Linked DNA regions of Homo sapiens: all the other regions are linked to region 4. The links are contacts of gene promoters, found by promoter capture Hi-C in human tissues and cell types (Jung and others, 2019). All regions are on one chromosome and are shown on one strand. Each heading gives the region's core, a stretch centred on a gene start or on the middle of the fragment in contact. The rest is flanking DNA. Distances are from core to core; before and after follow the strand shown.

Evidence for each region. The method cuts DNA at HindIII sites, captures the fragments that hold promoters and counts their contacts. A contact is called where the count stands out against the background at its distance.
Region 1: a fragment that was not itself captured here is called in contact with the fragment with the promoter of NPSR1 in region 4 in 2 of the 25 tissues and cell types used here (adrenal gland and ovary).
Region 2: a contact is called between a fragment that was not itself captured here and the fragment with the promoter of NPSR1 in region 4, in 2 of the 25 tissues and cell types used here (H1 embryonic stem cells and small bowel).
Region 3: a contact is called between a fragment that was not itself captured here and the fragment with the promoter of NPSR1 in region 4, in 3 of the 25 tissues and cell types used here (H1 embryonic stem cells, adrenal gland and small bowel).

Annotation. Positions count from the first base shown.
Region 1 is chr7:34,555,614-34,560,071 of GRCh38, forward strand. All of the region lies in intron 2 of NPSR1-AS1 (NPSR1 antisense RNA 1), which reads right to left. Among named protein-coding and RNA genes, the nearest start is that of NPSR1, 100 kb to the right of the region's middle. The HindIII fragment of the contact is 8,266 bases long and covers 1-4,458 here.
Region 2 is chr7:34,759,024-34,763,512 of GRCh38, forward strand. The region is part of intron 2 of NPSR1 (neuropeptide S receptor 1); the gene reads left to right. It also overlaps a transcript of NPSR1-AS1 not described here. Among named protein-coding and RNA genes, the nearest start is that of NPSR1-AS1, 3.0 kb to the left of the region's middle. The HindIII fragment of the contact is 3,418 bases long and covers 1-3,124 here.
Region 3 is chr7:34,587,502-34,592,140 of GRCh38, forward strand. All of the region lies in intron 2 of NPSR1-AS1 (NPSR1 antisense RNA 1), which reads right to left. Among named protein-coding and RNA genes, the nearest start is that of NPSR1, 68 kb to the right of the region's middle. The HindIII fragment of the contact is 5,620 bases long and covers 1-4,639 here.
Region 4 is chr7:34,656,839-34,661,519 of GRCh38, forward strand. It overlaps NPSR1 (neuropeptide S receptor 1), which reads left to right and starts at 1,380. Exons shown (of 9, transcript NM_207172.2): 1 at 1,380-1,721. The coding sequence starts at 1,575. All of the region lies in intron 2 of NPSR1-AS1 (NPSR1 antisense RNA 1), which reads right to left. RefSeq lists an enhancer at 3,419-4,256. The HindIII fragment of the contact is 11,658 bases long and covers 1-4,681 here.

The sequences.
Region 1 (4,458 bases), core at 556-3,055, 100 kb before region 4:
ACTAGAAGAACTAAAGAAGCAAGAGCAAACCAACCCCAAAGTGAGTAGAAGAAAACGAATAATCAAAATCAGAGTTGAACTAAAGGAGATTGAGACATGGAAAACCATTCCGAAAATCAACAAATCCAGGAGCTGGTTTTTCAAAAAACATTTGAAAGATAGACAGACCACTAACTAAACTAGTAAAGAAGAAAAGAGAGAAGATCCAAATGTGCATAATTAGGAATGACAAAGGAGTTGTTACCACTGACCCTACAGAAATACAAATAACTACCAGACTATTATAAACACCTCTAGGCACACCAACTAGAAAATCTAGAACAAATGGATAACTTCCTAGACACATACAGCCTCACAAGACTGAACCAGGAACAAACTGAATTTCTGAACAGACCAATCATGAGCTCTGAAATTGAATTAGTAATAAATAGCCTATCAACGAAAAAAGCTCAGGAACAGATGGATTCATAGCTGAATTGCACCAGACGTACAAAGAAGTGATGGCATCATTCCTACTAAAACGATTCAAAAAAAATTGAGTAGGAGGGACTCCTACCCAACTCATTCTATGAGGACAGCATCATACTGTGAACAAAACCTGTCACAGACACAACAAAAAAAGGAAACTTCAGGCCAATATCCTTGATGAACATTGATGCAAAAATCTTCAACAAAAACTAACAAACAAAATCCAGAAACATATCAAAAAGTTAATCCACCACGATCAAGTAGGCTTTACCCCTGGGATGAAAGATTCGTTCAACATATGCAAATAAATAAATGTGTTTCATCATATAAACAGAACTAAAGGCAAAAACTGCACGATCATCTCGATAGATGCAGAAAAGGCTTTCAATACAATTCAACATCCCCTAATGTTAAGTGTCTCTACAAACTAGGTATTAAAAGAGCATACCTCAAAATAATGAGAGCCATCTGTGACAAACCCACAGTCAACATCATATTGAATGGACAAAAGCTGGAAGCATTCCCCTTGAAAACCAGCACAAGAAAAGGACGCTCTCTCTTACCAGTCCTATTGAACATAGTATTGGAAATCCTGGTCAGAGCAATCAGGCAAAAGAAAGAAAGAAAGGGGAACCAAATAAGAAGAAAAGAAGTCAAAATATTCTTGTTTGCAGATGACATGATTCTATATCTAGAAAACCCCATAGTCTTGGACCAAAAAATCCTTAAGCTGATAAATAACTTCAGCAAAGTTTTGTGATACAAAATAAATGTACAAATATCACTAGCATTCCTATACATTAACACTAGCCAGGCCAAGAGCAAATCAGGAACTCAATTCCATCCACAATTGCCACAAAAAGAATAAAATGCTTAGGAATAAAGCTAATCAGGAGGTGAAAGATCTCTGCAATCAAAATTACAGACGCTGATCAAAGAACTCAGAGATAACACAACCAAGTGGAAAAGCATCCCATGCTCTTGGAGAGGAAGAATCAATATCATTAAAATGTTCATACTGCCCAAAGCAATTTACAGATTCAATGCTATTCCTATCAAACTACTAATGACACCCTTCATAGAACTAGAAAAACCTATTTTAAGATTCATATGAAAACAAAAAAGAGCCTGAATACCCAAGGTAATTCTAAGCAAAAAGAACAAAGAAAGAGTCATCCCACTACCCAACTTCAAACTATATTACAAGGCTACAGTAATCAAAACAGAATGGCAGTGGTATAACAACAAACACATAGACCAACAGAACAGAGTAGAGAGCTCAGAAATAAGGCTGTACATATACAACCATCTGATCTTTGGCAAAGCTGACAAAAACAAGCAATGGGGAAAGGACTCCCTATTCAATAAATCGGGTTAGGATAACTGGCTAGCCATATGCAGAAAATTAAAACTGAACCCCTTCCTTACACCATATATAAAAATCAACTCAAGAGAACTGACACGAAAAACCAAAAGCAATAAAAACCCTAGAAGACAGCCTATGCAATACCATTATGGACATAGGAACTGGCAAAGCTTTCATGACAAAGATTCCAAGCAATCACACAAAAGCAAAAATTGACAAACAGGATCTAATTAAACTGAAGAGCTTCTGAACAGCAAAAGAATCTATCAACAAAGAGACAATCTACAGAATGGGAGAAAATATTTGCAAACTATGCATCTGACAAAGGTCTAATATCTAACATCTGTGAGGGGCTTAAACAAATTTATAAGATAAAAACAACCTCATTAAAAAGTGGGCAAAGGACAGAAACAGACACTTTTCAAAAGAAGACATACATGCAACTAACGAGCATATGAATGAAAGCTCAACATCACTGATCATTAGAGAAATGCAATTCAAAACCACAGTGAGATATCACCTCACACTAATCAGAATGGCTATTATTAACAAGTCAAAAAATAACAGATGCTGGTGAGGTTGCAGAGAAAAGGGAACGCTTATATGCTGTTGGTGGGGGACTGTAAATTAGTTCAAGTATTGTGGAAATCAGTGTAGCAATTCCTCAAAGAGCTAAAAATAGAACTACCATTTGATTCAGCAATTCCATTACTGGGTATATACTTAAAGGAATGTAAGTCATTCTGTCATAAAGACACGTCTACGTGTATACTCATAGCAGCACTATTCACAATAGCAAAGACATGGAATCAACCTAATTGCCCATCAGCGGAAGACTGGATAAAGAAAATGTGGTAAATATATAGCATGGGATGCCATGCAGCCATAAAAAAAATAATGAGATCATATTTTTTGCAGAAACCTGGATGGAAGTGGAGGCCATTATCCTTAGCAAACTAATGCAGGAACAGAAAAACAAATACCACATGCTCTCACTCATAAGTGGGAGCTAAATGATGAGAACACATGGACACAAAAAGGCGAACAACAGACACTGGGGCCTATCAGAAGGTGGAGGTTGGGAAGAGGGAGAGGAGCAGAAAAAGTAACTATCGGCTACTAGGCTCAGTATCTGGTTGAGGAAATAATCTGTACATCAAACCCCCATGACATGGGTTTACCTATATAACAAAACTGCACATGTAACTTCTGAACCTAAAAGTTTAAAAATAAACAAAATATAGAGGTTGCTATGCCAAAAGAAATGACATTTAACAATTATACTTTTATTGAAGTATATTCTGGATTCTATGAGTCAGAAATTTAGACAGGAGCAGCAAGGGGTAATTTTTTTCTGATCCACAATATACTTGGAGCTAGCAGCGAAGAACTGCTGTTAAATAGTAAAATGGCTGGAGGTTGTAATTATTGGAGGACTTCCTCCTTAATGTGTCTACTACGAGACTGAGGCTGAGGTAACTTGAAGACTAGGCTGAGTGGGAACCTCCATACAGCCTCTCTATGCAGCTTCTCACTGCATGGTGAATAGATTCTGAGAGAGACAATCCTGAGAGGGGACATTCAGAGAGTGGGCACTTCAAGAAGTCAAAGCAAAAGTGGCATTACTTCTTCTGAACTAGACTTGAAGATTTCACCGTTTCTCCCCTGCCAAATTATTTTGGTTACAAGTAAATCACTAAATCCAGTCCACCTCTTGAGACAATTGCAAGCTCTAGATGCCAGCTCTTAATGGGAGAATGACAAATTAACACTGTAGAAGAGCATGCAGGCTAGAAGATATTGTTGTGATCCTCCTGGAAAATGCAATTTGCCAACTCCTTCAAAGACCACATTTAAATAAAAGCAAAGAAATTTAAAATTATGAATTGGTATTGAATAAAGGCGTGGAATTGAGAGTCATCATCTGAGGAAAGAAATACTAACAAATTTTGGGAAGAAAGAAACTGAATACAGGAGGGGTAGCAGATAGGGTCAAGTAGATAAAGCTACATCTAGCACAGTTGATCCTTGTATAACATTGGTTTGAACTGTGCAGGACCACCTATATTTGGGTGTTTTATTCAATAAACATATTTGAGGTTCGTAACAATTTGAAAAACTGACAAACTATAAAGCCTAGAAACATCCAAAAAATTAACAAAAAGTTAGGTATGTCATGAATGCATAAAATATGTGTAGATGCTACTGTATTTTGTCATTTACTACCATAAAGTATATGCAAATCTATTATAAAATTTAAAATTTATCAAAACATGTACATAAACACCATACATGTAATGTTTTTTAATGGGCAAAATATTTAAACAGATAGTTCACAAATGAAGATGTATGTAAACTCATAGAATGATGCTCAAAATTTATATCATCATGGAAATGCAAATTAAAACTGTAATGGATAGGACTATATGCCTACTACAATGACTACAGTTAAAACACCAACAATCCTACGTTGGCAAAGATAAGGATGGAGGTACTAGAAATCTCACATATTGCTGGTGGGAATGTAAAATAGTAATAATTTTACAAAATTATTTGGAAACTTCTAACAAAGTTAATCCTATACCTACCTTATGACAGCAATTTCACTCCTAGGTATTTACTTC
Region 2 (4,489 bases), core at 166-2,665, 100 kb after region 4:
TGCTTTTGAGAGTTATACACCAGGAATGATGCTATGTTCCTCTTAGTATATAGTATCAGCAGACACAGTATATCAATTTGTCCCATTACTAGTGATGTTATTGTCAGATTTCTCCACTGTAAAGATACTATTTTTCCTTTTGCAACTGACAAGTATTTTAAGAGTACATAGCCATCCTGATACTCCTTAAACTTTCACTCACAGCACTTACCATACAGTGTAGATTCCTGTCTGAATCAATGCTATAAAGGTTTCCAAATGATGATTTTCTAATTTCATTATTTCTTCTATACTTATTAGCAGTCTCTCTACTTTAAGGAAGAAATTTCCCTTCTCTCCCATTTTTAAATTTACATCATAGGTTCTTCTTTTATTCTGTGGGTTATAATTTGTTGCCATAGTTATTTCTTTTTATGCCTAGATTGCTGACTGGGGTCAGCAAGAGCCCTACAATTTGGTGCGTGTTTCTGTTGACATGTTTCTCAGCATTTTTGGGCATGTCCTCACTTGCCAGCACAACATGATGTTCCAGGCTTATCTTGTCCTTTTCCCAGCCCCAGGCCAGGAATCAGCCATCTCCAATGAGCCAAGTAAAACCATGGCATATTTAAGAGAAAGGGCCACAGGCATAATCATGGCGGGTATAAACTGAAACTGACCTAGAAATGCTGGGTCATATTCCCAATCTACCACTAGATGTCCTTCCACACCTCAATAGTTCTTCACAGGAAGCAGTCCTGGGGCATTTGGAAATGGTGGGATATTTGGAGTTATCACAAAGACTGGGGCAGCAGGGGTTACTTCTGGCATTTAGTAAGCACAGCCCAGGCATGCCAAATTTCCTGCACAGGACCATCTATCCTAACACAGAATTGCCCCATAAGTAGCAATCCTGTTAATAAATAGTGGCCCAATCCCTGAACTAATCTATCTTGTGTTCTAGTCTCTCAAGGATTGGCTTAGTTCTTTTCACCTTATCCGCCATCAGTTAATTTAATCACCACTGTTTCCATAGTGAGAATCTAATATATTAGACTGATCAAGTGTGTTAATCAAATATATTGGATTAGCTGGCATGCATTATAGCAAATAAAATAGCCAGTCTTCATTTTAGATCTAGTTTAAAGAAAGCCTCTACTTCTTATGTGTCAATTTTTGCAGAAAACATTATTCTAGCAAGTTGGCAAGGAGTCTAGGACTTATGTTAAGACACACCATCTCATCCCCAGTTCTTGCAGCTCTCTGTCTAGTTATTGGCCCTATTCATTGCATCAGCACCAACAACAGCTACCCAGGTTTTATAGGGCAAGCATTTTACTAAACATTTTACATAAACTATCTCATTTAACCTTCACAGTAGCCCTATAAATCAGGCATTCTTATTACAATTTTACAAAGAGCCCTGGATTCCGTGTGGTCAGTAGCAAGCCCAAGATAGCACAGCTGTCATGTAGCAGAGCCAACATTCAAAATCCCACAGTCGGGCTCCAGTAGCCATGCTGTGTACTGCCCATGCATGTAAGAACATACCCAACACAATGAAAAATAAGAAATGAAATAGAAAGGGCATGGAAAATATCAAATCATAACTGCAGAGGAAAAAAGTCAAATTTAAGCTTAGAGTTACTGCAAAGTTACTGCAACCCATCATATTTTATTTTGTGCTTCCTAGTTAGTGGCTAAAACTAAGGGCAAAACTGACTAAATATAATTTGTTGTAATCTTGAGGGAAATGCACAGCAAGATGTTTCTTGATCAAGAAAACTGATACTACGGAGCTTTATATTCAGTACTTTGATGAAACAGCACTAAAATGTCCTCAATAACATCTCTACAAAGAATCAGTGATTCTTAGACCTCTAAGAGGAGCCAGTGTGATGCCTAAACATAGGCATGTAGGCTACTTGACAGACAGACTCAGCATAGCAGTCATCATCACGTAGTAATTTCTAGCATCCTAGTAGCTTTCTCACTGGCTTTAGTTTTGAATAAATGGGATTTTTGCTAAGATCTTACATTATGCAACAGAGGCAACCACAAAGACCACCCCTAGAAAATGAAATGATCTTGGGCCCCTTCCTCCCTTACCTCCTGCTTCACACTGCATTCTTTGGGAAGCGGATGCTGAAACAGAGTCAGGTATACAAAAATCTGGGGAGAAGTCACTCCTGTGAAAGCAAAGGGAAGAAGTAAGATTGGGCTGGAGGACCCATCAGAGCCTGACATTAACCTGACAGTCTCTGGCAGCTCAGGAATCCTTTAGGATTTCCATGTTGGGTATAAATGATTAGACTCTTCTACTATAACTTAGTCATTGGTAGAGGTTGTACCAAGAATAGCATGATCCCAGCTAAAAAGCTGAGGCAAACCCTGAGGAATCTAACAGCTGGAGGATGTCAGCAAACCATATACCTCACAGCTGGACAGCAAGGTCTTTCTTGAAGGGGGATCTGAGCAGCATATCTCTATGTCTGCCTCATTTCCCTATGTACAAGCGTGTACCTGATTGCAGCAGAATGAGATGAGAAACAAATATTTTTTTGTTACAATTTACCACTTCCATCTCAGCCTGCTACCCCTTAGCTCTCCTTGGGCAAAGGGAAAAAGACATTTGAAGAGCCTGCCTCTTGGATAAGTGAAAATGGAACTCTCCTCTCCTTCTCTTGGATTTCTAAACATCCCAGATCATTTCTGTGAATTCTTTTTATTAGGAAAATAGCATCCTTTAAAAGAGAAAACAAGTTGTCTATGTCTTATATTCAGAGTCAGTTTGAGCCCCATGTTGTGCAATGATCTTGTGCAATGATAATTACATGCTACCATGCCTCAAGAAATTTCCCCTTAAGTGGAGTGAGGAGGAGAAATAGTGGAGGCTCAATGTCTTGTTTTAAGAAAACACCTGTTATTGCTGAACCTGATGCTTGTGCTTATGAGCACAGGAGTTTTTTGTGGCCCAGCAATAACCAACAACTCAGGTAGGCCAGTTGCCTCATTTAATGAGCTTCTTGGTTTCTGAATACAACAGAGGCAAAGAGAGTAAGTTTTACGAGGACTTGGGTTTCCTTAATTAGACACAAGCTTTTTATTTGGTTGGGGGAACTAATGGAGAAAGGGAGACACTAGCGGCATTTGTAACTTGTTAAGACTAATTGAAAATCTTAGGACCAAAGCTTTCTGTGAAGAGAGTGCTCTAATGAGAATAAATGTGATGATTATTTACCTAATTGAGCAGTAATGACTGAGGTGTGAGCCACTTCCCCAGGATTAATAAAGAGCCGGGGAGTTGACAGTTTAGACCATTAGGCTTAGCTGGTACTTCATCTTGGCGAAGGACACAGTGCCAGAATCATATTAATATTGTAAAATGAGCCCAAAACATAGACATATACTTTTGGAGAAATAATTTTAATTGGCTAAGTACCTGACATCAGGTTGGGCCATTCAGTTTTATCATTAAACAAAGTTTCACACAAGTTCTTCAAGACTTGTGCCATTTACAGTGTTCTCAGCATTCAGTGTTTAAAAAAGAAAAGTAGAAGAGGGACCTTTATCAATATCAAAAATAGTTTTTTGTGCAACCAAAAGCAAGCAAGCTATTATTATATATACACACTCGCTTTAAAAACAACACTAAAGACATTGAGTTGAGCTGGAAGCATTGCATACTCTGAGATACACAGTTGATATTGTTACCCACAGTGTCCCTTCAGGAAAGCCAGAGGTCATCTGCAACACCACAATTAAGGATAAAAGGACCTTATATTATCAGAAATTTCAATGTCTTCATAAAAATTGTGTTTATATTCAATATCTCCCTTATTTAGTGTGACAAATGTTCATGTACGAGTCATCTCAAGAAAAAGAGTTACTCAGCTTGCTACGTATTCATTATTCTATGGCTCTGCTATGCAGGGGAAAGTGCAAACAGCAACTGAGAGAAAGCAGGAATCTAAGACATGGGACTCAACTTGCCCTTTACACAGGGTGAATCCTACACTAGTGACCTTTGTGTTTTAAGGAAGTTTGCAAATATGTTTAATTGGACAACATTTCTTCCTTTATCTAGCAAGCACTGAGTATCTTGCCAGGCACTATGAAAAAAGATAAAACTATAAACATGAGCAAGGCACAGCCACTGCCAATCAGAAGCTTACAATCTAGCAGAGATCTTAAAATGCAGGGAGCTCTTTTAGAAATCTGCTTAGGGATCAAAATTTCCAATCACACTTTTCCTTCCAGCATCTTTATTCTGTAATCATTATTTTAATCTTCATTGAACGAGATGATTAATGTGGTTCCATCTGCTGTATGAAATCACCCATGCTACAGTCAGCCAATCAAGCAACAGCAGTAATAATGTACTACTTCATTTAATGGAAATTTACCAAGCTGTTACTATGTAATATCACAGTTTTAGGGCCTGGAGAGGTAGAGCTGAACTAAAAATAATAATCTCTGTTATCCCATAGTATAGTGGAATAGGAAAGAA
Region 3 (4,639 bases), core at 1,313-3,812, 68 kb before region 4:
GCACTTGGCCTCTACAATACCCATGTACTGATATTCACTCAAGTGAAAAATAAGTCAAGGAATAAACAAAATACTCTCTTATTCCTGGAAATGGCTACTAGAGGCAAGGTTGGAGAAGAGCACTTATATCTGTGGTCAAGTGGGCTTTTAAACAGGAAATTCCTTGGTAGGAAAGGGTCTGAGGGGAGTAGCCACTTCCAAAATGGAAAGCATGGAGGAAAGTAAGAGTCCCTGCTGTCTGCAGGAAGAATGGGTCCCAAGGGAGCTTAGAGCAAGGAAATGATAGAAGAAAGTGACTCAAACTAAATAGATATCTATCTTAGTACAAGCTGGACCAGAGCAGAGCTCCTGAAGCTTCCTGTAGATTCTTGATCCTGCTAAGAAGTGAGAATTACAATGTGGGAGAGCAGAGGGAAGTGTTGCTCCGAAGGGCAGCTTCACCCAAGAGGGAAGGGAGAGAGAGACTAGGTGTGTTTCCTCTATATAACTCACCAATCAAATCAGTTACTCTGGGAAGCAGGCTTGTAATGCCTATGGATGTCCCTCCGTATGAAGGGAGAGAATGGTACCAGCCCCCTACCCTTCCACTGCCAAGCTCATTTTTATCTTAGTCTATTGAGCTTGACCATTAAGCTTTTTGTCACCGATGAATACGGCTGCTCCCTCATGGGAGAAGAGTGGCCCAGGTCTACAGGACAGACCTGCTTCACCTTCACTAAGCCCATCTCCAGCACTGACCTCTGCGTCTCTATGTATCCTCATGAGGGTGCTGATGGCCAATTGTAATTTGCCTCCACCACATTCAGCAATTGGTCAGAACAGCTAATTAATTAGGACAACCCCAGGGTCATTTGGTTCCCAAGGCTGAAAATTTGTCCTCTATTTTATTTCTCATGCCAAATTACATCCAGAGAGCATATCAGAGGTTTTGAATAAAAATGAATGAATAAAATGCCAAATAGATAGATATCTTGAATTTGATTACTAAAACTGCTCCCCTAATCAAATTTCAGAGGGAAATTAAAGTCCAAAAATTAACACTTTTGCTTGTTAAAGTCCAATATTTATGCCTTCTAATTTCATATTCTGCTCATCTCAGGTAAAGGGCTTATGATAGAGCCCTTAACTTCACCTGTAATGGAAGTTACCTGTAATGGAACTTCACCTGTAATGGAAGCTTCTTCTGTTGCTTCCTGCAGAACACTCTGGATCAAGTAGTGGGAGAAACCACTCATACAGCTGACTTACCTCCCTCCAGCCTCTCAGACCCCATGCAGCAGTGCTACGCCCAGAGTTCCTTGACTTGGCTCCTTGCTACAACACATCTACATGCTTTTTCACTTTCTGTGTCTCTCGTGCCCCTTGCCAACTCCCAGTTTTCTCCTTCTTTATTACCACCCCTTCAAAATTAATAGAATTAGGATGGAGTTGAAATGTACAGATGTGCAGCTGCCTCATCTTCAGTTTCTAGGTAGTCACAGACTTCAGTAGATATTCCCAATTGTTCAGAAAGAACTTACAAAGTGGACTTTTGATATACTGCTGTATTTGTTGCTAGGAAAGAGTACAACCCCAAAGTTTATTCTTCTTCACTTTTGGAAAAGTACTGCACTCTGCGGTTCATCGCCCTGACAGGATGAGCTGATGTCTCCCAGTTGGAATCTACTCCTCTTGCCTTCTAGCTATTTCTGAGCATTAAATATGTTAGAACCAAAAACAGAAACGGTTGCTCCATGCTTCATTAGAGAACCTTGATAACATTGTCCTCAGGGACCACACCACATAATGAGACCCATTTGGTTTTAAAACATTACTTCATGAACAAGGAAAGTAGTTTTACTCAACTGAAACTATGATATCAATTTTTTTTATTTCTGTAATCATTAAATGCAACTTTGATGAATAATTTCTAACATTTAAAATGTGGCTCCTGAATCTCTCTTCTCATTAAAAAGGAAAAAAACTAGTTTTGAAAATAACCATCCCTCTCAGCTCTATTAGTGTATGGTTCAGTTTTTAAATAAATGCTTTCACTTAAAAGTAGAGTGTGCATATTAAAGAAAATTTGGATACCCAGAAAAGTGGACAGAGGAAAAAAGTACATGTAGTCCCATTATCCAAGAAAAATCATCATTAACATTTTAATGTTTTCACTTATAATTTCTTCTTAGTTTTATGCTTATATTTCCTCAGATTGAAAGTAGGTCAATTACCCATAAATTAAGCTATTAATTTAATGTAATGCTAAGTTGCGATTCCCTATTAGAATGCAATTCGAACATAAATCCCCATGGGTTTCTTTTAGAACCTGATTAGTTCACTCTAAATTCAACCTAAGGTATAAATTAATAAGACTATGTAAGAAAAAATTTTGAAACAGCGAATAAAGAAGTTGCCTGGCAAAATGTATGAAAATTTAAAATGCATTTTTTTTTAATCTAACATACCAATTTGGTGAAGCTTTCCCTAACATGTACAAGGCTGGTCTGCAAAGATATATGTCAAAGGGTGTTTTGGGGTGGTTTTGTCTGTTTTGTTTTGGAACTGCAAAATGAAGAGTTGAAGTTATCGCACTTCTCCACTCATGAAACATTAACTGCCATCATCCACACATGGAAGGACCATGTCTTGTTTATTTTCCACAGGACTGATTCTTGTTCCATGTTTCTTTCCTTAAAATCCCCAATCTTCATTCCCTTTTTCCTCCTTCCCAAGTAATCATATATCACATTATGATTATACATTATTTAGGATTTTTTTATCACAAGGAATAAGGCAATGAACATCATCCCCCATGAGCTTTCCATTATGGACCTCTGCAAAACTTTAGCTGGGACACAGGATAATATATAAGAATATATATTCTTGTCTTCCCAAAGTACTTTTGAATTGCTTTCCACATTGTCTGTACCATTTTTCATTATCATCTACTTGTCCATGTGGTTAATTTCCTTTCATTCTTTCCAATACTTGTCATTAACTTTTGTTAATGTAATGAGTATAATGTAGTGGTTCACCACTGTCATAATTCACATCTTATTAATTAGTAAGTTTGACTGTCACTTCATATACTTAAGAGCCATTTAATTTTTCACTTCTGAGATTTGAGTATACACATTTGTCTACTTTTCCTTTTGGTGTTTTGATTTTTCCCGAATGATTTGGAAGAAATCTCAAATATTCTAAATTCTAATCTCTTGTCAGTCTTAGTTTTGACAAGTATCTTCCTCCAATCCATTGTCTGTCTATTAATTTTGTCTATGGTGTTTTCATTTGATAGAAATCTCCATTTTTGATGTAATAAAATCTTAATTTTTCACATTGTGAGTTATATTTCTAAGGTCCTCTTTAAGAATATCTGTCTGACCTGAAGTCAGAAAGATAACCTCCTCTACTTTTTTCCTGTTATCTTTATTTTGACTTTTAATATTTATAATTCACTGGAATTAATTCTTGTATTTTGAATGATATATAGCTCTTTACACATGAGCTTCTATTAATAATATATCTTCTCCCTCATTGACATGGTACCATCTTACATTAAGTTCCCCCAAATACATGGCTCAGTTTCTGACTGTCCATGGAATTATATTTACCTGCTTGTACCTGAACCAGTAGCCCACCTATTTTTTTTCCTTTATGACAATGTCCTGGTATTAGGGCATATTCTCTGGTAGATTTAATCCTCACTACTTACTTTCTAAAAATGATTTGGGAATTTTTAAATATGAAAAACAATATAAGAAGCAAATAGAATTAAAAATAAGAAATGAGTAAGAATATACAAGATCAGAGAGACAAATTTTTAAAAATTGACCTAACTGGCATGTATAGAACATTGCATCTGACAGTGGCAGAACAGCATGGGGGAAACCACCCCCATGATCCAATCACCTCCCACCAGGCCTCTCCCCAGACATGTGGGGATTATACTATCAAATTACAAGTTGAGATGAGATTTGGGTGGGGACACAAATCCAAACCATATCAGTTTAATATTTGAAAATCAATGTAATTCTATACATTAACAGAAAAAAATTAAAGAAATAATTATTTCAATAAATGCAAAAAAAAATTAATGAGGCTAAAACCAAATTATGATAAAATCTCTTAGCAAATAGGGATAGAAGGGAACTTAATTTGACAAAGAATATCTATCTCCCAAAAAAACAAAAAAATTAATGGGACTAGGGTTGTCCTCCTACTGGAAATCAGTAGGTGACTGTGCCTTCCATGATGTGGTTTCTGTCAACCACCTCTACTCTTTTTCCAAGTTTTATACCCTTTGAGAGGTTCACAGCGAGGAGTATTGACATTGTCAGAAAATGATGATTTAGAAAAGTGGCAGGATTCCACGACCTGGAATGTTTAGTGCATAGAGTAACTAGCTTCAACCTCTCTGAAACCACTTGACCAAGAGGCAACCCTTGGGCATTCTCTTTCCTGGGAAAGGTCTAGGGAACAATAAAGGTCTAGAGAACAATAAAGGGATATTTCCAGCATTCTCTGCAGTGGGACATATAGAAGGTGCTATGGTTTGAACATTTGTCCCCTCCTAAACTCATATTGAAATTTAATTGCCATTGTAACTATATTGCGAGGCGACACCTTTAAGAGGCATTTAGTCATGAGGGATCTA
Region 4 (4,681 bases), core at 130-2,629:
ACACGCTAGCTTTCACTATAATAATAGGTAAACATTCTTACTGGTTTTAGTTATTTTCCTTAATTTTTAATATGGTTGAGCCTATCTTCATACTCATTTGTTAGTTGGAATATGCTGCACTTGTTTTGCTATTGAGTTGTTGTCCTGTTTTGAACCTTTCCTTAAGAGTCCACAGCTTATCCAGTTTTCTACACAACTCACTTCTGTTTGCTGCCCTTCATTATAGACTCAATGCCTTCTCATTGCTAGAGCACTGTGCCCTCCTTGGGGCTCGATGGTTTATAATAAAGCTTCCCCAGGAGATCTCATGGGGGCCAGGTTCTTTAGTGGTGGCCACTAAAGCTACTACCTCTTATTCCAGGTGCCATAAACCAGTGGCTGGACCTGGTTGGTTCACAGAGTGTTCTCAATGTGAGGAATCAGGTATTGTGCTTGGTTGTCATATAAGCAGCTTAGTTCCCATTGTTTTATACCTGGCCTGCTACCCTCATTCATGTTACCTTCATGCCCCATAGACATTTGAGATTTGATGCAAACCAGTCTGTTACAGTAAAAGCACCACTGTCTAGGAAGTTCTGGAGATGGGTTATCAGCTCATTTACATCAGCAGCTGCGGGATCTTGGGCAAGTCATTTCACCTATTGGAGCCACTCTCTGCTAGCATAAAGGAGAACATAAAGATACCTTCCCTGCCTATCTCACAAGGTTGTTTGGGAAACTGAATGAAAGAACGTGTAAATGTGCTTTGCAGGTTTTTTGTGAAACAGGAATAGCTGTTAGTATTCTCGCCTAGCCCTGTCTGTGGTGCCCAGGATGCTGCATTACCTCCTTTCTACCCTCGCCCTGAGTATTGGTCCTAGGTAGAAGCTGAGGTGAATATACTGAAAGCAGTAAGAATCTTCACCAGGCCCCTCCCAGTCATATCACAAGGTGTTGTAGCTTATTGACAAACACAGACCTCATGTTTCTCTGAGAACCGCCCTGTGAACACCTAGATAGAACTAAGGGTGTGAAATACAAACGTACTATTTGCCTACACTTACGGAAATAAGAGCACATGACACAGTAGATGGCAAGGTGAGGCTTTAAGTCAGAAAGCAACCTCAGCTGAAACAAATGCATAATTATAATTTGATTTCAGAAGTGGAAACATGACCCGAATTCATGCACCTACTGATTAGTCCAAATTCCTTTATTGTTGAAGCTGGAGCAGAAGTGGGGGTCCACCGTGGAAGTAAGGAAAAGCAAAACAGAACAGGGGTCTCATCCAGGGAGCCATGTCGATGGCTATGGGGAGCTCCACCTTGCTCTTGGGGTGGGGCCCTGGCCCTGGGTGGGACTGTGGGGTGATGAGGGTTGTGCTATGCTGGCTACCTGGTGGTAATTGCCAAGGAGAGAGCAGCACGTAGATCCTCCCTGTCATCAGGCAGAGCTCTTCAGTGAGGTGGGCTCAGGGAGGGCTCTGTGCCTCCGTTCAGCAGAGCTGCAGCTGCTGCCCAGCTCTCAGGAGGCAAGCTGGACTCCCTCACTCAGCTGCAGGAGCAAGGACAGTGAGGCTCAACCCCGCCTGAGCCATGCCAGCCAACTTCACAGAGGGCAGCTTCGATTCCAGTGGGACCGGGCAGACGCTGGATTCTTCCCCAGTGGCTTGCACTGAAACAGTGACTTTTACTGAAGTGGTGGAAGGAAAGGAATGGGGTTCCTTCTACTACTCCTTTAAGGTAAGTTTCTTGCCTGCGACTCTGAACACTGACTTATAACAATGAGACTGCTGGAACTTAAGAGTGTCAATTGAAGTATCATAGCCAGTATTGTGAATGAGTGTTATTTTCTTTACTAAAAAGGATTTTTAAAAGTCTGAAGTGCTAAAACAACAAGCTGTAGTGTGCAGAGACCTAGATTGTAGTTTCTTAGGAATACAGGTGACGTTTTTCTTTCTGATGCTGCTGGAAATGTGTGAATCGTGAGTAACATTTATGAGTGGATGATTTTTACTTTCCCCCTTTCCTTAGGTGAAAGCACTTTTAATTAATCCTATAGCAGTACTTGAAATGTCTGTTTCTAGTAGGGGTTAGAGCTATGAGTTTTTTGCTAGGAACACCAGAGATGCGGAAAGCTCACAATCCCCAGGACAGTGACTGATATGATGAGAAACAACATTGAATAAGGCAGGAAGGACGACACTTTCTTTGATGATCCTTTTCATTAAACATCAGTGAGGAATATATTTCTTTGAGGGTAGTTGATGATGCCACCATTTGCAACAAATTACCTCCTAGAACAAATGAAGGACAGAGAGTTTGGTGAGTTTCACCTTCAAAGTATCCAAGGGCCACACTGAGGAAGGATCTTCATTAAGCTAATACTGTATTGTTTCTTATTCCGCAACAAGATCTTGTGGACAGAAATGAACCGCACATTTGGGAAAAGAACAGTTTCCTGCTTCTTGCCTCAGAATGCTGGGTTGTCAGGTTATTTCACACCTGTCTAACGATATGTTTAGTCATTGCAATAATTCACAGGTCTCAAACTGGTCCTTTCCACTGAAGAAAAAATACTTCAAAAAGATTCTAGTTGTTGCTTTGTTGGGTTTTGTTGTTGTTGTTGTTGTTAATCCTCTGTATGTTCTTGAAATGATTTGGTTTTTACACAATGAGATAGCATTACTGTAACATCCACCTCCCTACTGGAAGTTCACTTCTTTTGCAAATATTCAGAATAAAACTTTCAGCAGGGTGCTGTCCCAGGAGTCAGACTTAAACTTCCAGGGCCCTAATGATCCTGCAGCAAAGCAGAACCTGAGCAAACTACTCCTCCACTGGCTTCAGTGAAACCCTGTCCCTTGGAATCACCTCCTAATGCATATGCACATACGCAGCCCAGCTGCACAGCTCCACGATGTAGCTTAGAAAGTAAAATTAGAGTTTGTTGCCACTTAATGTCGACTGAATAATCCCCTTTATGAAATCAGCCTGCAGACCCAGAGAGTCTGTCTTGGCAGGCTGTGTGCACCCAGGAAGCACAGGACTCCACTCAGTATTGCTGCCTGTGTAGCCTCTTTGATATTCTTAGAACATGATAGCAAGCAGAATGAAGAGAGGCCCTCCATTGCAAAGGGAATAAAATCAGCAATAAGGTGGTTATTCTGAGACTCTGGCAAGAATCAATCTCAGCTGAAATCTCATTTGCCATTTTTTGAATATAGCACCTACAGGGATATTTGGAATATGTGAAGAAACAAATCCCACCTTGCTCTCTATGAGTGTTTGTCCTCTCTATCCTAGCAACATCATCGCCAGACACTAAAGAGAATCACAGCATCTCTAGCTGATTCCTATTGATATGTTTGCAGCAAAACGGCTGGACCACTGGACAAGGAGAAAAGCAGAAAGACAGGAATTGTGTTTGGCCAGGAGCTTAGAATGCTCAGATTCATTATTTGAGAGATACGTGTATTGACTAAAACCCTGTGATTTTTAGTTACACAGTGATTACTGGTGGTATTTGTGAGAACTTAGCTTATATTTCTTAGTGTAACTTTTTTTCTATGATCCCCTTTGGGCACAAGCAATTCTAATGCATTGTTGATACAGAAATAGTTCCAATGCAAGCCCTTGTTCACTGCAATTCATTTTATCTGACATACTTCTAGAGAAGAAATTCGAAACCATGCTCCCTTTACTGTCTCCCAGATGTATCCCCTTTAATCCCCATTGCCTTCATCAAAAGCAGTAAAAAAAATAGCATGAAAATAAAAATAGCAGCAGCAGTAAAAGTCACAGAAATAACAGCAACAACCATACGTCTCATTTACTTTGGGCATTCTTGGTGCCAAGAGTCATAGCAAGACTCACTTAGCAAGTGACTTCTGTGAAGTATCTCATTTAATTCTCACAATCCATGGTGTATCTTTCCTTCCGGTCCTGCCTTCCATCTTCATCTGTTTATCTCAATTTTACCCAGTCTATAAAGCTCAGCTTGGGTTGCTTCCTCCATGAAGCCCTCCTTGACTCATCCCTCCCTGACTCATCCCTCCCTGAGCTTCATTAGTGTCACGGACTGTACCTCTCTTCTTGCCACTTAATGCAGTTCTGTCTTAAACTGCTATTTCCATATGTGTTGGCTGAATGTGTTACAGTCCTCAAGCTCCTTGAGTAAAATGAATGCCTTATATTTGTTTCATATTTTCTCCCAGGACCTACCACTATGTTAGTCATACTCAATAAACATTGACTGCATAAACAAATTGTGATGTGTTTTTTCTTCCAATTACCAACATTTTGTCAAATAAGCAACAGAAAGCATGTATTCCCTGTGACAGAGGTGGGTGGGGGCTCTCATTAACCAAGTTTCCACCCATCAGCCCCTACCCTGCCTGGTCTCTATACTCACCCAGGTCCCTTTCTGCAAGCATGTTCAGCTTGTCCCTATTCCATTTCTAAGCCAATGAGACCAAAGTCGGTTCTAGATTCCAGTGGGTGGGGTATGGAATTAGCTGAGGCACCATGAGCTGGTACCAAGTACCTGGTCCAGCCCTGGGGAATCCATCTCTATTGCATGGCAGCCTTACCTAGTCTCAGCTGTCTTGCTCCGTCCACTTACCTAGGCTCCTGACTTCGTTTCCCATCTCACATTCTAGTTCTTATCCTCTGAACTCCAAAGCTCTTTCAGGAGGAGACAA